Linked DNA regions of Homo sapiens: all the other regions are linked to region 3. Evidence: promoter capture Hi-C in 16 types of primary human blood cells and fetal thymus (Javierre and others, 2016). All regions are on one chromosome and are shown on one strand. The core of a region is centred on a gene start or on the middle of the fragment in contact, and the rest is flanking DNA. Distances in the headings are between cores, read along the strand shown. Region 1 overlaps PDLIM5 (PDZ and LIM domain 5). Region 2 holds the start of SMARCAD1 (SNF2 related chromatin remodeling ATPase with DExD box 1). Region 3 holds the start of EIF4E (eukaryotic translation initiation factor 4E). Region 4 overlaps UBE2D3 (ubiquitin conjugating enzyme E2 D3). Region 5 overlaps CENPE (centromere protein E). Region 6 has its middle 2.7 kb from the start of CISD2. Region 7 has its middle 4.6 kb from the start of BDH2.

Evidence for each region. Contacts are between HindIII fragments. The CHiCAGO score rates a contact against its expected background, and 5 or more counts as called.
Region 1: a fragment that was not itself captured here is called in contact with the fragment with the promoter of EIF4E in region 3 in 2 of 17 cell types (naive CD8 T cells and M1 macrophages); the score reaches 5.5 in naive CD8 T cells.
Region 2: a contact is called between the fragment with the promoter of SMARCAD1 here and the fragment with the promoter of EIF4E in region 3, in 9 of 17 cell types (total CD4 T cells, naive CD8 T cells, fetal thymus and 6 more). The highest score is 18.6, in total CD4 T cells.
Region 4: a fragment that was not itself captured here is called in contact with the fragment with the promoter of EIF4E in region 3 in 1 of 17 cell types (neutrophils); the score reaches 8.9 in neutrophils.
Region 5: a contact is called between a fragment that was not itself captured here and the fragment with the promoter of EIF4E in region 3, in 1 of 17 cell types (neutrophils). The highest score is 7.8, in neutrophils.
Region 6: a contact is called between a fragment that was not itself captured here and the fragment with the promoter of EIF4E in region 3, in 1 of 17 cell types (neutrophils). The highest score is 6.4, in neutrophils.
Region 7: a fragment that was not itself captured here is called in contact with the fragment with the promoter of EIF4E in region 3 in 1 of 17 cell types (neutrophils); the score reaches 7.2 in neutrophils.

Annotation. Positions count from the first base shown.
Region 1 is chr4:94,453,160-94,455,859 of GRCh38, forward strand. It overlaps PDLIM5 (PDZ and LIM domain 5), which reads left to right. Exons shown (of 13, transcript NM_006457.5): 2 at 2,088-2,225. The coding sequence starts at 2,130. Among named protein-coding and RNA genes, the nearest start is that of PDLIM5, 2.6 kb to the left of the region's middle. The HindIII fragment of the contact is 2,948 bases long and covers 1-2,700 here.
Region 2 is chr4:94,206,427-94,209,126 of GRCh38, forward strand. It overlaps SMARCAD1 (SNF2 related chromatin remodeling ATPase with DExD box 1), which reads left to right and starts at 1,439. Exons shown (of 24, transcript NM_020159.5): 1 at 1,439-1,644; 2 at 1,920-2,158. The coding sequence starts at 1,969. It overlaps SMARCAD1-DT (SMARCAD1 divergent transcript), which reads right to left and starts at 1,130. Exons shown (of 9, transcript NR_125922.1): 1 at 1,104-1,130. RefSeq lists enhancers at 1,058-1,417, 1,516-2,019. The HindIII fragment of the contact is 2,630 bases long and covers 880-2,700 here.
Region 3 is chr4:98,927,838-98,930,537 of GRCh38, forward strand. EIF4E (eukaryotic translation initiation factor 4E) reads right to left here and starts at 1,296. Exons shown (of 7, transcript NM_001968.5): 1 at 1,258-1,296. The coding sequence starts at 1,275. RefSeq lists an enhancer at 1,690-2,700. The HindIII fragment of the contact is 5,241 bases long and covers 1-2,700 here.
Region 4 is chr4:102,819,769-102,822,468 of GRCh38, forward strand. All of the region lies in intron 2 of UBE2D3 (ubiquitin conjugating enzyme E2 D3), which reads right to left. Among named protein-coding and RNA genes, the nearest start is that of UBE2D3, 6.4 kb to the right of the region's middle. The HindIII fragment of the contact is 2,485 bases long and covers 69-2,553 here.
Region 5 is chr4:103,192,659-103,195,358 of GRCh38, forward strand. It overlaps CENPE (centromere protein E), which reads right to left. Exons shown (of 49, transcript NM_001813.3): 5 at 2,456-2,575; 6 at 1,945-2,026; 7 at 1,716-1,783; 8 at 1,571-1,636. Among named protein-coding and RNA genes, the nearest start is that of CENPE, 4.3 kb to the right of the region's middle. The HindIII fragment of the contact is 3,593 bases long and covers 1-2,700 here.
Region 6 is chr4:102,864,967-102,867,666 of GRCh38, forward strand. It overlaps a transcript of UBE2D3 not described here. Among named protein-coding and RNA genes, the nearest start is that of CISD2, 2.7 kb to the right of the region's middle. The HindIII fragment of the contact is 3,078 bases long and covers 1-2,700 here.
Region 7 is chr4:103,103,100-103,105,799 of GRCh38, forward strand. No RefSeq gene overlaps it. Among named protein-coding and RNA genes, the nearest start is that of BDH2, 4.6 kb to the left of the region's middle. The HindIII fragment of the contact is 4,331 bases long and covers 1-2,700 here.

The sequences.
Region 1 (2,700 bases), core at 157-2,656, 4.5 Mb before region 3:
ACAGAAATTCCAACCTTTTCGACGTGTTTGAAAGAGTATGCTGCTATTTCCTGCCTGCTTGGTATTTGAGGAAGGGCTTGGGCACTAATAACCAGATGGAGGAGTCTTGGAAAGGCCAATAAAAATATTGCCATTGCTTGGGGCAGAGACTGTTTTAAGGCAGATGAATTCCAAATGAAGCTAGCAGAAGAAGCATCTAGAAATGAACGGACAGTGACTAGAAATGAAATGACACTGGTTTTGTAGTGTGGCTGTGACCTTGCCAGTGCTAGGAATTTTAATAACAAATGAGAGAAGTTAGGAAGGGAATCCCCAAGTAAAGGGAAGTTGCAAGTACATGGGTTGATAATCTAAATGAAATACATTTTCTTGTAGGGAAGAATGGGGCCAGAGGAAGTTGAGCCCAACTTTCATATTATTCCCCAGACACAAGTTAAAGATTAATAAAGGAGGGCAGGCTGCCTGTGAAATATCAGTTGGCTTTACACGATTCTGATTTGTATCGTGTCAATATCAGGACAGTCCTTCTATTAGTTTTCTGAAAATCTCCTCCTTTTATAGCGGGAAAGCAATTGAATTATGTGTGGCTCGTTATTAGCTTCCCACTAGTAGTTTTTCACCTATATATACAGTTTGACTTCCGGCTTGGCCTTTGGATCTTTTTTAGTGCTCTGTGCCTATTACTTCATTACTGAAGTAATGTGTTATTGCCTTGTAGTTCAGTATACTACCACGCCAGTAGAAAAGCTGTTTCGGTTTCTGATACAATTTTCTGTAATTTTTATTTTCCCTGATATAATTTTTCTTTAAAAACCAGGCTTATTTGAATGTTTTGCCCCATTTTCCCTTTATGAGAAGAAGGAATGTTTGCTTTAAATATACCTATGGCTCAAATATCTATATCTGCAACTATGAATTTGGGGTGATGGGCTAGAAATTTTGAATGGGTTAAAACATATTTTAAGACAGGTAATATTAGGTGGTGATTTGGTTGAATAGCTTACATTTTCCAAGGAAGTATGTTTTTAATATAAAATTACATATCTGTTATGTTTTTAATATTTTTTAAAGAGAGAGAATTATTGTTTCTTAGTATTCCATTAAAACAAAAGAAAACTTCATTCCTCTGTCTCCTGCCGTTATAACAACCAATAGGAAACTCGAAGTTTTTTTTTTTTTTTTTGCTTTTTAAAAATTATATGAAAGTACTACTAGGAGAGTCATCACACGCACACTTAACAGCAGAACAGACAAAAGAAAGCACCGAAGCACTGGTTCTTTTCTAAACTGCCAATTCCATTTGAATGCATTAACCCAGCACTTTTGCTGTATTTAGTCATAATCTTATTCACTGAGTGGCAAATGCTTACTCTCTGCCTGGTGAGGTGTGTGTATAAAACAAAAAGCAGGTTGTGACTAACATCACTGTACTAGAGTATTGCCTATCGTTGACTATCTGAAGGAAAAGTAGATATCACTTTAAGTGTGGAAAATACCATGTCCCCATAGGAGGAAATACAAGTTGTAGTTCATGATTGGAGAGAATAGTTTTGTGCATTGAAAAACAGCTTCTCATTGTAAAGAATTTAGTATTTGGAAAGCATGAATGGGAGCCTACTGATTTGCAGTCTCTTTCACATGTTAGAGTAACTTAGAATTTAAGTAAGTGCAGTTGAAAGACTCTTGTCAATTGCAGACAAAAGAATACATGAAGTGGAGGGAAGGAGAAAATTATTCTGAATTCAACCTGAAATAAAATCTTGCTACATTAGTGAAGTATTGTAAAGTACTTTGAGTTAAACTTTGCATGCAAGAAGCCACAAAATTGGATTGAAGCAAGTTGTGAAACATACTAAGTGTCTAGAAATGTATTCTGATATGGAATTTTTAGACCATGGAAATTGCCATGAGTGTAGAAAATTTATATTAGCTCACAGATTGCTTTTCTTAAACTGAAATTAATGAAGAACTTAATTAAGACTTATCTTCTATATCCTCTCACCCCCCTCAAACAAAATACTAAACATAATTTATGTTCTAGGGTTTCAAGTAAACATTTTTGCTAATCATCTGATTTTCTTTCACAGCATATTTCATTTTCTGTCATTGGACTTTGAGCCATTAGAACCATGAGCAACTACAGTGTGTCACTGGTTGGCCCAGCTCCTTGGGGTTTCCGGCTGCAGGGCGGTAAGGATTTCAACATGCCTCTGACAATCTCTAGTGTAAGTAAACTTTACAAATTTTATTATAGATGTTCATTCAGTGCTTAGTCCTCGGGCTGAGTTGTTTAATTCTCTGTTGACCTGTACTCTACTTATTATCATTGCTCCTGGGATTTGATCTTGGCAAATTTGATTATCTATAATAAAGGATGAGGGGAGTAGATTTAGCAAGGATAACTGACTTCAATTTAACTTCTTTTCGTTTTCCCCCATGTTATCAATAATAAAATGGAAAAAGCATTTAACTAGGAACAGACTGTACATTTTTGAACTGTCCCTAATTTGGGGAATTCTCTGAATCTTCGTTCTTTCATATATAATTTTCAAAGGTTGTGCTATGGGATTTTAATAATCTCTTTCAGTTCCAAAAGCTGTTTGTTAAAAACTGTTGATCAAAATTGAATAAAATGATTGTTTCGGAATTATTTCCTCAGCTCACTTTCTGGTGGAGGTGATAGCCAACAGTAAGATGGCC
Region 2 (2,700 bases), core at 189-2,688, 4.7 Mb before region 3:
TGGGAGCTAAAAAATTAAAACAATTGAACGTATGAGAAACGGTAGAACGATGGCTACCAGAGGCTGGGAAGGGTAGTGTGGGGCGGGGGAGGACCCCGGTGGTCGGTGAGCATGGTTAATGGGTACGAAAATACAGTTTGAATGAATAAGATCTAGTATTTGATAGCACAATAGCATGACTACAGTCAACAACAATTTATTGTACTTTTTTTTTTGAGACAAGAGTCTTGCTTTGTTGCCCAGGGTGGAGTGCAGTGGAGTGATCTCGGCTAACTGCAACCTCCGCATCCCAGGTTCAAGCTATTCTCCTGCCTCAGCCTCCCGATTAGCTGAGATTACAGGCGCCCGCCACTACGCCCGGCTAATTTTTTGTATATTTAGCAGAGACGGAGTTTCACCATGTTGGCTAGGCTGGTCTCAAACTCCTGACCTTGTGATTCACCTGCCTCAGCCCCCCAAAGTGCTGGGATTACAGGCGTGAGCCACCACTCCCAGCTTATTGTACATTTTTAAATGACTAAAATAACTGGATTGTTTGAAACACAAAGGATAAATGCTTGTTATGGATACCCCACTTACCCTGATATGATTATTACACATTGCATGCCTGTATCAAAATATCTCATGTACCCTATAAATATGTACACCTACTATGTACCCGCAAACATTAAAAATTAAAATATTTTTAAAAAATTAATTAATTAATCAAATTCCATTCTAAGAACAATCAAGCCGAAAGTGAGGAATTACTTTAAATGCTTTGAAGCTCAGCATCCCGGGGTTCTTATCCGTCACTAATTACCTATACATTTGCAGGTCTCAGTTTCTTTGCTTTGTAAACATAGGCTTCTTGTAAGGATTGGGATTATACACTGAAAAAGCTTAGCACAGTATTATTACTATTATGCTATCTACATTATATTATAGGTGAAACACTACAGATTATAATACATACAATATATACTAATTGTATTATATATTGTTATTTTTTGTCATTATGCTATTTACTATTGTTCTATTTAATAACTCTCTAGATAATTTAACAGGACAAAGGTACAGAACAATCTGGCCCTTACAAGCCGGCGGAGACGGGTACGAATTACCATGACAACAGCGCGCGCCTCGACATTGTCGGCTCGCGCGTTGTTTGGGAAGAAAAAGCCTAGGCTGCGTGTTGCGTCATCATTACGCGCTCTTAAGGTTTCTCCGTGGTGTTTTGGAAGGTCCCGGCACGGCTACCGTCGCCCCACGCTAGGAAATTTTTTTTTTATTTTCAACCTTTGTTACATAGCACTGAGGCTACAAGATCGTAAGTACTGAGGGAAGAAAGAACAAGCGAGCGATTGAACGTTAAAAAGATGCCTTAGCATGCACTCCACCTCTGAACCTTCCTGTGTGTTCTTAATCCTATCAGCTTCCTCTCAGCTGGGATCGCGCCGCGTCAACTTCCGGGCGGATGCCCGCCAGCACGGCCTCCGCCGCTCCCCTTCTTTGGCCCCTTTGTGTCCCCGCAGTGTCGAGGCGCGGGCCCTGGCAGGTCCTTTCTCGAGGCAGGGGGCACGGTAGCACAGGGAGCTTCTCTTTGTGGGCGGGCGCGAGGCCCGCTAGGGGGTTATACTGGGGAACGTGCCTGCGCGTGCTTGGGTAAGAGGAGGTTGCATGAGGGTCAGCTCGTGGTTTCAGTAAGGAGGGGCGGGCGGGGGAGGCGGACGAAGGGGAGTGAAAAGCAATGGAAAATTTTAAAAGATACCCCCGTCCACCTTCTAATTGTTGCGGCCTAACAATGAAGCGCAGCCATAACAGTCCTGAGCCACTGGCATGTTTGCGGGCCCTTTATTGCCTTGGGAATAAACTGCTGTGGCATTGTATCGTATATTGTTTTCATGGCCTTTTTTCCTCTCTTTATTTTTCCCCTGCAGATAGTTCATTTAAAGCCCCCATCCCTGCAAGGTGGTGCTTTCTACCAATATGAATCTTTTCAACCTGGACCGTTTTCGCTTTGAGAAAAGGAATAAGATTGAGGAAGCGCCCGAAGCAACCCCTCAACCTTCCCAGCCTGGCCCTTCTTCACCAATTTCTCTTAGTGCTGAAGAGGAGAATGCTGAAGGGGAAGTTAGCAGGGCAAACACTCCTGATTCAGATATAACTGAAAAAACAGGTGAGTTACAATGTTAAAATTGATGTAACATCAAGGACAGTTTTTAAAAGATGAAAGGCAGAAGGGATTCTCATTTTTATTCTTGATGTCATATATATTGATGCATTGTCCTGCGGTGTGCCCTTTTAAATACAGCTTTGGGACTGCCATAAGCACCATGTACCCTCAACTGAGCATCCATCCATTGTCGCCTCACTTTTATATGAGTTCTTCGAATATGGCCCCATGGTGGAAGTTGAAATTAGAATTTAGGGCATCCATAGGTCAGAACGGTTGCTATTGGAAGAGCGATGTCAGTGATTCAGTCCTATGATAAACTTTGAGGCTATTTGGGCAGACATTTTCATTCATTCCAGTATTCCCTCAAAATATTGATCATCTACTGTGAGCTAGACATTGAGCAAGGTGCCTAAAGACAACCTCTGTACACAAGGGAAGATCAGATCACATCAAGTTCTTGCATCCACCTGACTTCCTGGATGTCCTCAGAATGCAAATGAGTAATTGGTATTCTTCATGGTGAATGAACATTTTTAACCTCA
Region 3 (2,700 bases), core at 46-2,545:
AGATATCTTCACTTAGCTGTGTCGTTTCTAAAAAGGCAACAGGGCCCAGAAGTTTCAGTGAGCCAGTCCTGGCAAACCCAAATTATGAAAAATATACCCTCTGCTTAAAGATTAACTACAAACCTACCCTGGGACCAGCTTGCTTCAGTTAAGTTTAAAATGGTGCCTAAATTGAAATGAAAGTCTGTAGCATAGATAAAGAGAAAAAAAAAGTCAAATGGAAAAGTAAATTTAAAAGTTTCTATTTCCAATAAACTGCGTCTCAGAAATCTTCCAGGAGATAAAGACTCGGAAGAACAGAGGGATTGAGACCCATTCGCATTCTCTGAGGCGTGCGCACTACGCGGAAAGGATGAATGAATGGAAGACGGGCGCGTGTGAAATGCAGCAGGTCCGGCCGGCAAGCCGACCGGCTACAGCGATCTGTAGGCCTCGCTCCTCCCCCTTCCCTCCTCCATGACAGCCCAGTCCCAAGCATGGAGGGGCGAGGACAATGTGATACCCCTTCTCACCACCACCATCCCTCATTCTACTTGGAGAGCTTCACCGTGACACACGAGTGTTCCTTCCCACCCCAGACCTTTCTCGCTTCCCCTGGCGCAAACACCGGCAACTCTCCGGCGCGCTGGATTAACAGACGCTCGCCCCTCTCAACTCCCCTAAGCGAGGTCGAAGCTCCTCCGCGCGTGCCGCGGCACCACTCCCGCCTAACCCACCCTCCGGCAACACTCGCCCACCAGCTCCCCAGTCCACCGGTCTAAGGAAGACGTGCGCGCGCCCCGCACCCGAGCCCCGGAGCTGGGGTTCTGCAGGGAGGGAAAGGCTGCTCCAGGGCTCCCTCCTCCATCTCACTCCAGGCCGGCTCGCCGCCCACCCTGCCTGCGGATCCCAGTACTCGCTGGGAGCCGGCCCTGCGCCTTCCTATCATGAAGACACCATCCTCGCATACCCAGCCCAGAACCCCAGCTACCCTCCACCCTGTAGACACCTCGCGGTTCCGCAGGAGGCGCCACGCCGCCCCTCCCCCACACCGCTCCCCCAGTTCTCGGGCCCCCACCAGAAAGTGTGCGCTACACGCCGCCTCGGCCATCCTCCGGGACGTCCCCACTTGTCCGCGGGAGGTCAGGTCCAACATGAAGGGGAAGGGGCGGCAAGGGGTACAGTGCGCGCCGGGAACGCCGTCCCGCGGAGTCCCCCAGTCAGAAGGAAGACGGAGCGCGGGGACCCGTGGGGGTGGGGGCCAAAGGCAATACTCACCGGTTCGACAGTCGCCATCTTAGATCGATCTGATCGCACAACCGCTCCAGAAGGGGGGGTAAGAGGAAAAAAATGAGATTCAAACCGGATTGGCCAGCTTCTGGCCACGTGACGGATATGTCCGTTTGGCCCTGGCGGCACCTGCGCAAGACTGCGGCTGCGTGAGTAACGAGAGGCTTCTGGGAAGTGGAGTCTCTCCCCCACCTTTTTTTTTTTTTTTTTTTTAAGGTAAAGAAATTTTTTTTAAAAAGGACTGGTCACGTGGCCGATGGGTAGGGTGCGCGGTTCTCAACGCGGCGGACACTCGCTTGCTGGAGGGTGGTTTCAGTCCTCTGCTCTTCCGCCTGGATAGCTGCGGTCACACTTACTGCCAGGCAAGCCTACTGTGCCCTTTGTCGCCCTGTCCTCCCATCTTCCCCGGAAGGTTGGGAACTGCAGGCTCAGCACACACAATAAGGCTTCATTTGCTTAGTTGAGGTCCCAGGACAAGTTGCCTGTGTGTTTATTTAGTTTTCTTTTGATCTCCCACCATTTTCTCTTAGTTTCAAAAAGAGGCGGCGATGCAGAGTCGTTTAGGCAATCAACCCTCCCACGTCCCCTGGCTCAGCTAATGCTGGTGGTCATTCGTTGCCATTTCTGCGAAAGGGGACGGACGGAACCGCCCGCAGTACCCGCTTGCCACCGGCTGGACGAGGGGGAGGGACGACAGCTTTTACTGTCCCAAATCCTGAGATTAAGACCTCAGGGCTAAATCTTGCGTGGCGGTAAAAATTATTTGGAAGTTCTGTGCAACCGTTCCAATATTCCGCTTTTACGTGCACGGAAATAGCCTAAGTCCAGATGCCAGCCAGGGAAGCCACTCCGGGCCCCGCTGACTAAGCCCTGGACTGATGGTCTGGAGTCTTTAGGCCGGGTCAACTATGACTCTTGACGTTGACTCATTCTCCTTAGGCGAGTGACTTAATCGCTCGGCGTCTCAGCTTTTTTATTTATGAACCAAAGGTGATGATACACTTACCTCACAAGGGTGTGCTTCGTAATGACTGTAACCGGCTTTGAAAATGCATCGGACTCTAGAAATGATTCATAATAAGCAACTGCGTGCCTTCCTAAAGATCAAGTGCTTCTGCTTTTTTTTTTTAGCAAAGTTTAAATTTTTTTCTGTTTACTTTGTTTGATTATGATGTACACCAGTGTAGTTTTAAATGTTCAGGACCATTTTTTTTCCTTTACAACTGCAGCTGCCCTCAATAGAGGCTTTAATGTTCATGAAATTATTGTTATGCTCACAACAATCACTGGCAATCAGAAATTTGTCCCCACACTGGCATCCTACATTTCCTTTCCCTCTAAGATACTGTGCTGTCATTTCTCAAGACCGTGTTTTTTGCACAGTTTGGCTACTAATAACAACAAATAGAGATGAAGAAATCTAGTAGACTC
Region 4 (2,700 bases), core at 61-2,560, 3.9 Mb after region 3:
AGGTCATACAGAGGACAGAACGCAGTAGTATAGATACATTTCCTCTCAGCACTTTCCGGAAAACTAAAAGCTTATGCCATTACTAAAGGTTAATTTCTTGTATTCTATTTGAGAGTCTATTTCTTTCAGAACTAAAGACAAGATTTACATGACTCAAAAGACAAGATTTGTATGACTGTGAATCAGCATTATAAAAACAGCCCTTGCCTCAAAAACCTATACTGAGCAACACAAAACACTGCTTTGGGGACTGGAAGAGATGATAAAATGAGGTGGGAAACAAAGGGAGTAAGTGCCTTAAGAAATTTTAAGAATCATCCTCAAGAAGACTTTACAACCAACCTAGAAAAATACAAAGGTGCGAACCAACAATAGAGGTCGAAGTGCAGTGCAATTAGCTGTCCATCAGGCAGACAGTAACTACTGTAACTGTTCATATAAAGATCTGGTTTACTATAAAGTTTTATTAACTTTAATGTTATGAAATGTCTGTATAAAATATGTAGATGCGAATATCAAGGCAGGGAACAACAAACTTCAGAAACATGGTTATTTCAAGAGAAGGATGCTTGGCAAAAAGATATGAACAATTTCACAAAACTCCAAATAGTCCCTTTAAAACACATTTTAATTTGAAATTTCTTCTGAGAAATCCTTTTTTATCTTAAGGTTTAACAGTAGGCACTGCACAGTATCTCACTGCATCACTGACAAGGTATTAACTTCCTGTTTAGTCGTAATTATAGGTGAAACAAGCATGCGTGTTCATTACACAAGGTACTAAGAATGGATTGAATATTACTAATTTTCTTTCGATCACCACTGAAGGTAAAGTCACTTAACATTATTCAAAGCCATTCTTTTGTAAGCATTATTTAAAAATGGGCAAAGAAACCCAAATTTAGATTTGAAGCTCTGCTCCATGAAAGCAAGAAGGGTGTTTTATGGACATTAAAACAAACAAAACAAACAAACAAACAAAAAAAACAAAGATTAACAGCCAAACAGCTGCCCAGTAGTAGAAAACATTCAATTACACATTAGCCATGAAATTACAGCAAGGTTAGGATTAATGTAAGTATTTCATACTGAAAAAGGTACAAGAAATCATGATTCACAATTGACAAACATTTAAATACGACAAATTCAGCTATGAAAAGTTGAAGGTCTCTTTTACAATAGATTATGTTGAAAGTATCATTAGGAGATAAAAATCAGATGTTTCAACAAAGTATAAAAATACTTCCCTAAACTTTTCCCTTCCCTACATAACAAGGTTGAGGATACAATTCTGAATAAATCTTATCTAATAAGAGAAACTGGGCAGTAAGATATTTGGTGAATGCATTCATTTTTAATTATGAAATAACACTGCTATGGTAGCAAGCTCAAGACCACAACATTTCCAAGAATGGAGAGTTTTATTTCATTAATTTCAAAATACTGGTTTTGGCAAGGGGAATTAAGTCATTATAATAAAAGACAAATCACATTGTAATAATACTAGTACAAAAAATACAGTATAGAAAATTTATTTTAAATACCTCCCCTACTAGATCTAATATTCTTGAAAGGTAAATTACAAAGTGACAAACAACTATTCATGTGTTTACATGCTTATTTTCACCACTGAACGCAGAGATTACCATAGATAAGGACCATCTTCCTCATTTATTCCCTGGGACTAGAATACTACGTCTAATGCAGATTAGGACCTTTACTCCCTTGTATCTGTGGTTCTTAATCAGAGAGGAGCTTCAGAATCACCTAGAAAATTTTCAAAATTATGTGTTTCCAGGGAAAATGATTTAGTAAGTCTAAGACCCCCATGCAGCTGTATTTTTTTTTTTAAATTCTAAACAATCTGACATTTAAAAATAAGTAAACAAGTATAACTGGATTGTAACACAAAGGATAAATGCTCGAGGTATATACCCCATTTACCCTGATGTGATTATGCATTGCATACCTGTATCAAAATATTTCATGCAACCCATAAATATATACACCAACTATGTACCCACAAAATTTTTTTAAAAACTCCAAATGTTCTGGAATATAAATGTAATTCATGTCACACCCAACAATATATAATATTCAGTAAGCTCTTCTATACGCTAACAGATACAAGAAAACTGCTATTTAAAAAAAGAATGCAAAAACCAACCTAGGTTTGAGATTTTAATCTGAAACATTTTTTTATCTCAGTGTTACGAACCTAGTTTCTTTTTTAATAGATAGATTATAGCAACATGCTGTGGAGAATCCTCAAAGATTGCCTGTCTTGGATAAAAAGGGTCACCTAAACTCAGGGGCAAAGTTTGACAGAGCAATCTAGTGACACAGTAGTTCATCCCAGTGATGGAGCATTCAACTTTTTATTTGTATAAATAACAAAAACTAGAATCAACACTGCAGATGAGCATGATGAAAGAAAAGTATGCAGTGTCAGTAATGCATCCTTTTTCAAATTAAACAAATACTGAGGTCCTATTATTATCAGCATCCTTCAGTCACAACTATCCTACACAGAAAGTGAGCTGGCTATCAACAAGCTTTGAGGACCATATATGAAACACATGCAAGACAGTTTACCCAGCCTATATACTAGTTGGGGACAATAAATATATTTTGTTCACTCTAAGACATCCTAAGCAGTTAACTGGCACATGTTAGTTTTCAGTGCTTGAAGAGACTACC
Region 5 (2,700 bases), core at 27-2,526, 4.3 Mb after region 3:
CAGCTTAGGCAGCTAGGATAATGCTGGTTTTACTGGAAATAAGGAATATTCACTATGGTAGGAAGAAAATAGTTTCGTTTTAGACATATTAAAGTTTGAGATAATGATGGGACACAATTATAACCATCTTTAGGAAGACATGAATTAGAATTCAGAGACTATAGGTAAAATATTTGGCAGTCATCAACATGGAAATGATGACAGAACATTTGAGAGCAAGAACTTGAGTAAGAAACGTCACAGAATACCTCCAAGTTTTTTTTTTTTTAATTATTTTTTTAGGAGGGTAGGGAAAAAGAAGCCAGGGTAGAAAACAGAGGAGTACAGCTAAGAGAAACTGGATATTATCATCCCACCAAGGCCAGGAGATAATCAGAAAAGAGCCACCTCTAAAGAGACAGAGATGACTCTTTAGAGACTTCTTTCCAAGAAGATTCTTAGAGTAAGTGGGTAGGCTGGAGGGTTGGAACAGATGGAACACAAATGACAGAGCATCACGTAACATGAGGAAAATCATCAAGTAGATCACTGAATATGCCAAGAGTATTAAAGCTAAATTATTAAAAGTTAAAATTATATGAAATATCACAGTCTTGGATGAGAAAACTAAAGAGGTTAGGGTTTGGTTTTTTATTGTTAAATTAAAACAAGATTAAAGTCTACTAAAATAAGTTATACAATTTTATAGCAAAATAGCTAAGGTGAAATTAGGATTGAATATTAAGTAATTAATAATCTAATTTTATAAAATCTGAAAATGAATAAACATATTATAGATTGCTTTTTTCCCTGAAGTTTTCTAATCAAATAATCTTAAATCATATCCCACATCAAGCTAAAGAATTTAGGCCCTAAAAATGCAGAATAAAGCAATATGGTAAAAGATAGAAAAGGAGCAAGAAAGAAACAGCAATAATTTAGTGTGGAAAGAAGGAAGTGAAGGTTTACTAATGTGGAATATAGGAATGTTTGCATAATGCATATATTCGCTTATTCAGCAAATCTATATTAGACATAAAATAGGTATAATGTGTTGGGGCTACCAGGATGAATGCAGTATCACTCCTCAATGGATTTACAGTCTAAAGTACTACGTTTACAATACAAAATATATTTTATTGTTGTACTTAAGTAAAACCTAAAGTAATGTGATTACTTTTTAACCATCCAACCTAGATTTTTGTTGATCACATAAGTCTAAATTACATTGGCTGAGATTTTACAAAAAGACCCTCAAATTCTAAGATGATCTAAAGTGTTAAATGTGTATAGAAAAAAATTCTACTGCATTAGTGGTTAGAAAAAACATCAATTCCTATAACCCTATAGCCCTGACATTTAAATTTTAGGAGATGGCAACCATGACATAACAGGAAGAAAGATCCTCTGAATTTTTCCTACGACATTTTAGCTAGGAATTTGATGATACTGACAAGACTAAGCAGACAATTTGTAGATTTCCTCCCACATTTAGTTTAGTTAACAGTTCTTATTAAACCAAACATCCAGCAACTAAATTAAATTTTGTTTTGGCCCATACAGTACATTATTATGGTTCATTAATACTCACCAAATGGGATACCTTAACAGATCCTTCACAATTAGAAGGTTCACCCTTCTCTCTGCTTTCCAAAATCTAGATAGAAAAGGCAAGCTGTAGAAAAATTAGTGCATTCTTACTTGGAAAGATCTAACAGATAGATAGAATTACCTACCATCCTAAAGATGGTATGAGAACGACTGCTTCTTTGATTCATTTTTGTTTCTCCATAATGCCTGCTCTCTGTAAAAATGAGTTATATTTCAGCTGCATATATAATAAAATCCATAGAAACACAATAATTTTTATTTTAACTTAAAAAAGTATGATTTGAGGTCCAAACGTGCTTGATTGAAAAGATAGTTTTTACAAGTGTTCTAAAGAAATACAGCATAAAGTCTTACTTTCTCCCTTTGTAATCCATTTCAAAGCCATTTCTGATGTATATACAACTTCTTCTGTGAGATCAGCAACATACACATTCCTCTGAAACAAGTTTAATTATGGAAAGATTAGAGAAATAGAAGTCACAAGTTTGCTTTTCAAAAGAAGGTGCAAACTATTATAGAATTCATTTGTGAAAGTTAAAAGTGGCAAATGGAACCATAATTCTGTAGGAATGTAACAAATAATTCTATGAATACCCACAATTTATTTCACATACCAAAGCACAACAAATTCTAACCTGATACTTCCAACTTGCTATTTTTACACTTAAACCAAAATATTAGAGCTGTCAGTATTTTAAAACTATTCATATTGTTTAAAAGATGAATATAAATACTTCAAAAAAACCCTCACATACTATAGAAATAGGAGACACTTTAAAAACTATAGAAATTAAAGGTAAACATTCAAGAACAATAATCTCAATAAGTCAGTCAATTTTAAAGCTCCCTTAAGTCTGCTACTCACATTGACATCTTCTCGAATAATTAAAGGTTTCATTTTTTGAGTGCCACAGAGTAAATCTGTAATGGTTTCATTGTATATTTCCATGTAAGATACACGTAAGAGAAATTCCCTATCAGGAAACTAGAAGAAAAAAAATTATATAAAAACACCAGGAAGCATCCAATTGTGAAAACCTAATGCTAAATGCTCATGTGCTTAAAGAGGTAAAATGTATGTAAAACAAACTAAGAAACCCCTTGGTTCTA
Region 6 (2,700 bases), core at 79-2,578, 3.9 Mb after region 3:
AAAATAATAACAAATGAGAGTAGATCCCTTTCTCATGCACAAAAAGTAAGTACTGGGTTGAGTAAAGCCCTAATATGAAGAATATAAGTTTAAAACTTTTAGCAAAAACACAGGTGAATACCTTTGTGATTTAGGGGTAGAAAAAGATTTCTTAAACAAGACTCCCAGAACACAAATTGTAAAGAAAAAGATGAATAAATTTGACTACACCCAAACCAAATTTCAGTATAAAAACAGACATACACGGCCAGGCACGGTGGCTCACGCCTGTAATCCCAGCACTTTGGGAGGCAGAGGCAGGTGGATCATGAGGTCAGGAGTTCAAGACCAGCCTGGCAAATATGGTGAAACCTCGTCTCTACTAAAAATACAAAAATTAGCCGGGAGTGGTGGCGGGCGCCTGTAGTCCCAGCTACATGGAAGGCTGAGGCAGGAGGATCACTTGAACCTGGGAGGCAGAGGTTGTAGTGAGCTGAGATCGCGCCATTGCACTCCAGCCTGGGCAACAGAGACTCTGTCTCAACCAAAAAAAAAAAAAAAAAAGACATACACTAGGAGAAGATAAGCAACAGGAAAAGATAAGCAACCAATGTAACCAACAAGGTAATATTTTCCAGAAAACATGTACCAGTGAAACTGATGAACAAACCAATAGCACAGTGGGCAAAGATGTCAAGAGCAGACTAGTAGGCATTTGGAATTAGACTCCTAGAATTAAGATTAGCCTAAAGAAATCTGGGCTGGAAATAGAGATTTGGGCTATATCTTAACGATCATATTTGAATTTGGGGCACTGGATGACCTAATGGGAAAAAAACATGAAAGAAATAAAAGTCTTGGGCCTAGCTAGGACAGGCAGAAGATGAGTGATCCAAGCTCAAGTGCTTGAAAGTAAATAATGACTCCTTTAACTGTATTTACATATTTATCTTGAGTTTTCTGACCACAGTTTCTTTATGTCTTTTAAAGATGGAGTCTAAAAACACTATCGCATAAGGTGGTCAGATAAGCCTATTACATCTATTTAGAGCAATATTATCTTTAGACCATGTTTCATGTGCAGCCAAGAAGGCAGGGTTGTGGAAATGAAATACAAATATAAATGAAAACAGGATTTAAATTTTAAGTAAAGGGAATTTAAGAAAATATTCCTTTTAAGTGGATAATAAGGATTTTTAAATTGGTGGAGTTAGGAATTATCTCCTATTACACATTCGCATAGCTCATGTAATGCATCAGAATACCTAATATATGATCCACACCTTTTCTCTGAATTTCAAGGCCTCCCAAAAAAGTTTTATCCATATAGACTTGCATTCACTACATTTTTTCTACTTGAAAATAGCAAACCAGCTATTCACATAAACTGCTAAGAGGAAGTAAGCCAACCATAAAAAATTACATACTGTAAAATTACTTATATGTGAGGGTCAAAAACATGCACAGCAATACAGAATAGTAGTAATGGTGGTGGATGTGGTTGGAAGGGTCGCTTTTTAAAAACGCCTCTATTGAACATTCTGTATATTGATGTGGGTGGTGGTTACCTGGAACTGTACATTTGGCATTTGAGCATTTTACTATATCTTTAAATTGAGGTATGTATTTTTTAATTCTTTAAAGAAAAACTGCTTGGAGGTCTTATTCTTAATGCACAACAATCACAAACATTAAATTTATACAGTCCAGAGAATGTAAAGTTGCTTTAAAAAAATTCTTTCCTTTTCTCACTTTAAAATACCAAGGGGAAAAATTAAACTCAACACAGCACGTCTTGCCCTTGTCAAGATGACAGATCCTCTAAGAGAAGAAACGAATAGGTAATGGCCTTTTCCAGATTTTCTTTTCCTAATGTACCCCACTTCCAACCTACCCCTACCTCAACTAGGGTATCTAGTTGTACCCAAGGGTGCTTCTACATTAGATCCACAGAGATTAAAGATAACAGTTAACAGAATAGTCCAGAGGACAAGGATATTCAAGTTCCATCATCTTCAGGATAAAAAAGCTCCAGGGTTTACCTCCAAACTCTCTCTAAAGGAAATCCCATCAACCTTTTAAACATCACTTTGTATACACCATCTTCTATACTGCCCTAGCTCAAAAACATGAACCTGTATCTAAACGTGTTTGTAGAATTTCCATTGTAAGTTTTACTTTAACAATTTTGAACAATTATAATGATAGAAAATTATTTAATCTAGATTTTGGTCAACTCTATTACTGATATTCTTTTTTAGTGAAGGACAATCACAAACACTAAATTTATACAGTCCAGAGAATGAAAGATTGCTTTAAAAAATTCCTTCCTTTTCTCACTGTAAAATAAAAATACCAAGGGGAAAAATGGAAAGTATTTATTATAACTGGCTGTTACACTGTCATACACAATGAAATACTGGACCATTAGCAGTTCGTTATTATATGTTGTTAAGTGTAGAACTGTAAATAATGAGGCATATTATTAAGATATCACACACATTATCCAATCAGCAAGTGCACAACTTCGGACATTTTGACTTCAGCCAAAATATGAAACAAAGTCATAGCAAGAAAGTTATTTCAAGGGAGTGAAATTTTCTCCTCTTACCCTTCAAATCTTTTAGAGATATTAATAAAAACAACTATCCAGCCTGGGCGATATAATGGGACTCCATCTACATACACACAAAAATTTTTAAAATTCGTTGGGTGTGGCAG
Region 7 (2,700 bases), core at 180-2,679, 4.2 Mb after region 3:
TCAGTATGTAGCCTAGGCTGGTCTCAAACTCCTGGTCTCAAGTGCTCCTCCTGCCTCAGTTTCCCAAAGTGTTGAGATTACAGGGATGAGTCACTGCGCCCAGCCTGGCTCTCCTTTTAATAGTACAGAGAGCACTGATTGTCCAAGAAATGAACTGTTCATAGAGGTATGCAAAATGTCTGCATTGGATACTCCTAATCAACCACTTCTTAGAGGTGAGGAACTTAAGTGACTCTATATATAATACTTTTTTTTTTTTTTCCGAGACAGAGTCTTGCTCTGTCGCCCAGGCTGGAGTGCAGTGGCATGATCTCGGCTCACTGCAACCTCTGCCTCCTGGGTTCAAGCGATTCTTCTGCCTCAGCCTCTCGAATAGCTGGGATTACAGGCACACACCACCATGCCTGGCTAATTTTTGTATTCTAGTAGAGACGGGGTTTCACCATGTTGGCCACGCTGGTCTCAAACTCTTGACCTTGTGATCCGCCTGCCTCAGCCTCCCTAAGTGCTGGGATTACAGGTGTGAGCCACTGTGCCCGGCCCTATAATACTTTCAAATATTTATGGAAAACTAAGAAATATACCAATGTTGGTTGGTTGCTTCTAATATTGTTGGGCAAAATTATTTAAAAAAAAAAAGGATGACTTCAGGGATTCAAATTCATGGCTCAAGCTCCACATAAGTAACCTAAGAGCTTATAGGCGTGCCCTGAAAGAGGATCTTCTCTCCTGTAGACATGAGGCTAAAATTGCTGAAAATCAAACACCAGTCTTCATCATTTGATTGGTGCAATTACAAAAGGCCTCAGTGTGTCTACTGGTAAAATAAGCCACAGTGACTGGGAGAGTGAGATTCTATAAGTTGGGATGGGGACGTGTGGGAAGACCCTGAAGCCAGGAACATTGAGTTTTTTTTTTTTTTTTTTTTTTTCAGTTTCACCCTGTTGGCCAGGTTGGAGTGCAATGGCATGATCTCGGCTCACTACAACGTTGACTTCCAGGGCTCAAGTGATCCTCCCACCTCAGCACCCCCGAGTAGCTGAGACTATGGCCATAAGCCACCATGCCAGGCTAATTTTTGTATTTTTTGTAGAGACGGGGTTTCACTATGTTGCCCAGGCTGGTCACGAACTGCTAGGCTCAAGAGTCCCACACCTCAGCCTCCCAAAGTGCTGGGATTACAGGTGTGAGCCACCATGCCTGGCCAGTTCCTACATTCTGATGAGTTTTTTTTTTTACCAGCTGTAGTGGCCTCTCCAACCTCATTGGGGTTGGTAATGGCCTTTCCACCTTTGTCTGAAGGGTTAACCCTGCATTGCCTGAGGAAATAATAATGGCCTCCCCTGAGGCAGCTGCCAAGCAAGACAATGCTGATTCTCCTCAGGACCTACCCCCACCACCCCTCTATGCTCCTAGACCTATAACTAGACTCAAGTCCCAGCAGATCCCTAATGTGAGGTACAAAGTGTGGCCCATGAGGAGCTGCATCACAATCAAAAGAACCACTTGAGTTTTCTAACTTATATAAGCAGAAATCTGAGAAAAATGTGTGGGGATATTAAGGGTGTGGGATAATGGTGGCAGCAAAAGGGACAGAGCTTATTTGAAGAAATAATGGCCACAAACTTCCCAAATTTGAGGAATAAAATGGACACCCAAATTCAAAAGTTAAGCAATATTCTACTAGGCTGGCTACCTGACAACTAGATTTTTAATGGCTTTAATGTAGTTTTATCAATCAGGTAAACAACCACTACTTTGGGTTACTTTTGTTCAGTGGAGAAGCAGACATAAAGAATCAAACCTGCAGGCATGTTAGTGTTTTGTTTGGATAAGGGTGGAAAGCAGAAGACAGACTCTCAAGGTACAGGTCTGGGGGAAAAGATTTTAGGAAGGGATAGTTTCCCCTTAGTCTTTGTTAATTCCTTTGGTGGTATGTTAAGATACGGAGAAATATCCAATCCACAGACTTTGAAATACTAGATATGATGCAATCAATAATCTCTCCCTTTGAATGAATCTTACCAAAGAGCCGAGAATGACTTGAAATCACTTTACCTCTGTTCTATAACCTAATGCAACTTGTTTTAAGTGGTTTTTCAAAGTCATATGGTATAAAAGTAATATCAAATATCCTCTAAAACCATAGTTCTTAGATTTTTACAGGATCACGGGCCCCTCTAAGAATATGATAAAACAAAGTATAAACCCCAGTATCCCCTCCCCCCAAATAAATCCACACAAAAAAGTTCATAAAAAATTTCAAAAATTTTACAGATTACAAGAAGTCCATCCATATATGCTTTATCTATCTGTGGGGACTCCAGGTTTAGAAAACTTTACTTTGATAAAAACTCTGGTACTGTTTCCTTATGTCTACAATGAAGAGGTAGAATAAATGATCTATAGGTTCCTCCAGGCTGGGAGTGAGGGGCAATGAAAAACAAAGTCTATAATAAACCAACCAATTTAGAGAGTTTGTATAGGGATTGGGATAGGTAGGTTACCAGAAATGTGAGAAAGAACTTCTGTGGTTATTACAGTAAAAGGAATATTAGAACTGGAAAGTTAAGAGGACATAGCCTCTGCTATCCTTTAAGAATTTAAATCCAGATCCAGAAAACTTGTGTATATTTTCATAGCAAAATACTGAGTCAACAAGAGAGACTACCTCACCAAGAAACCATTAACATTATATAG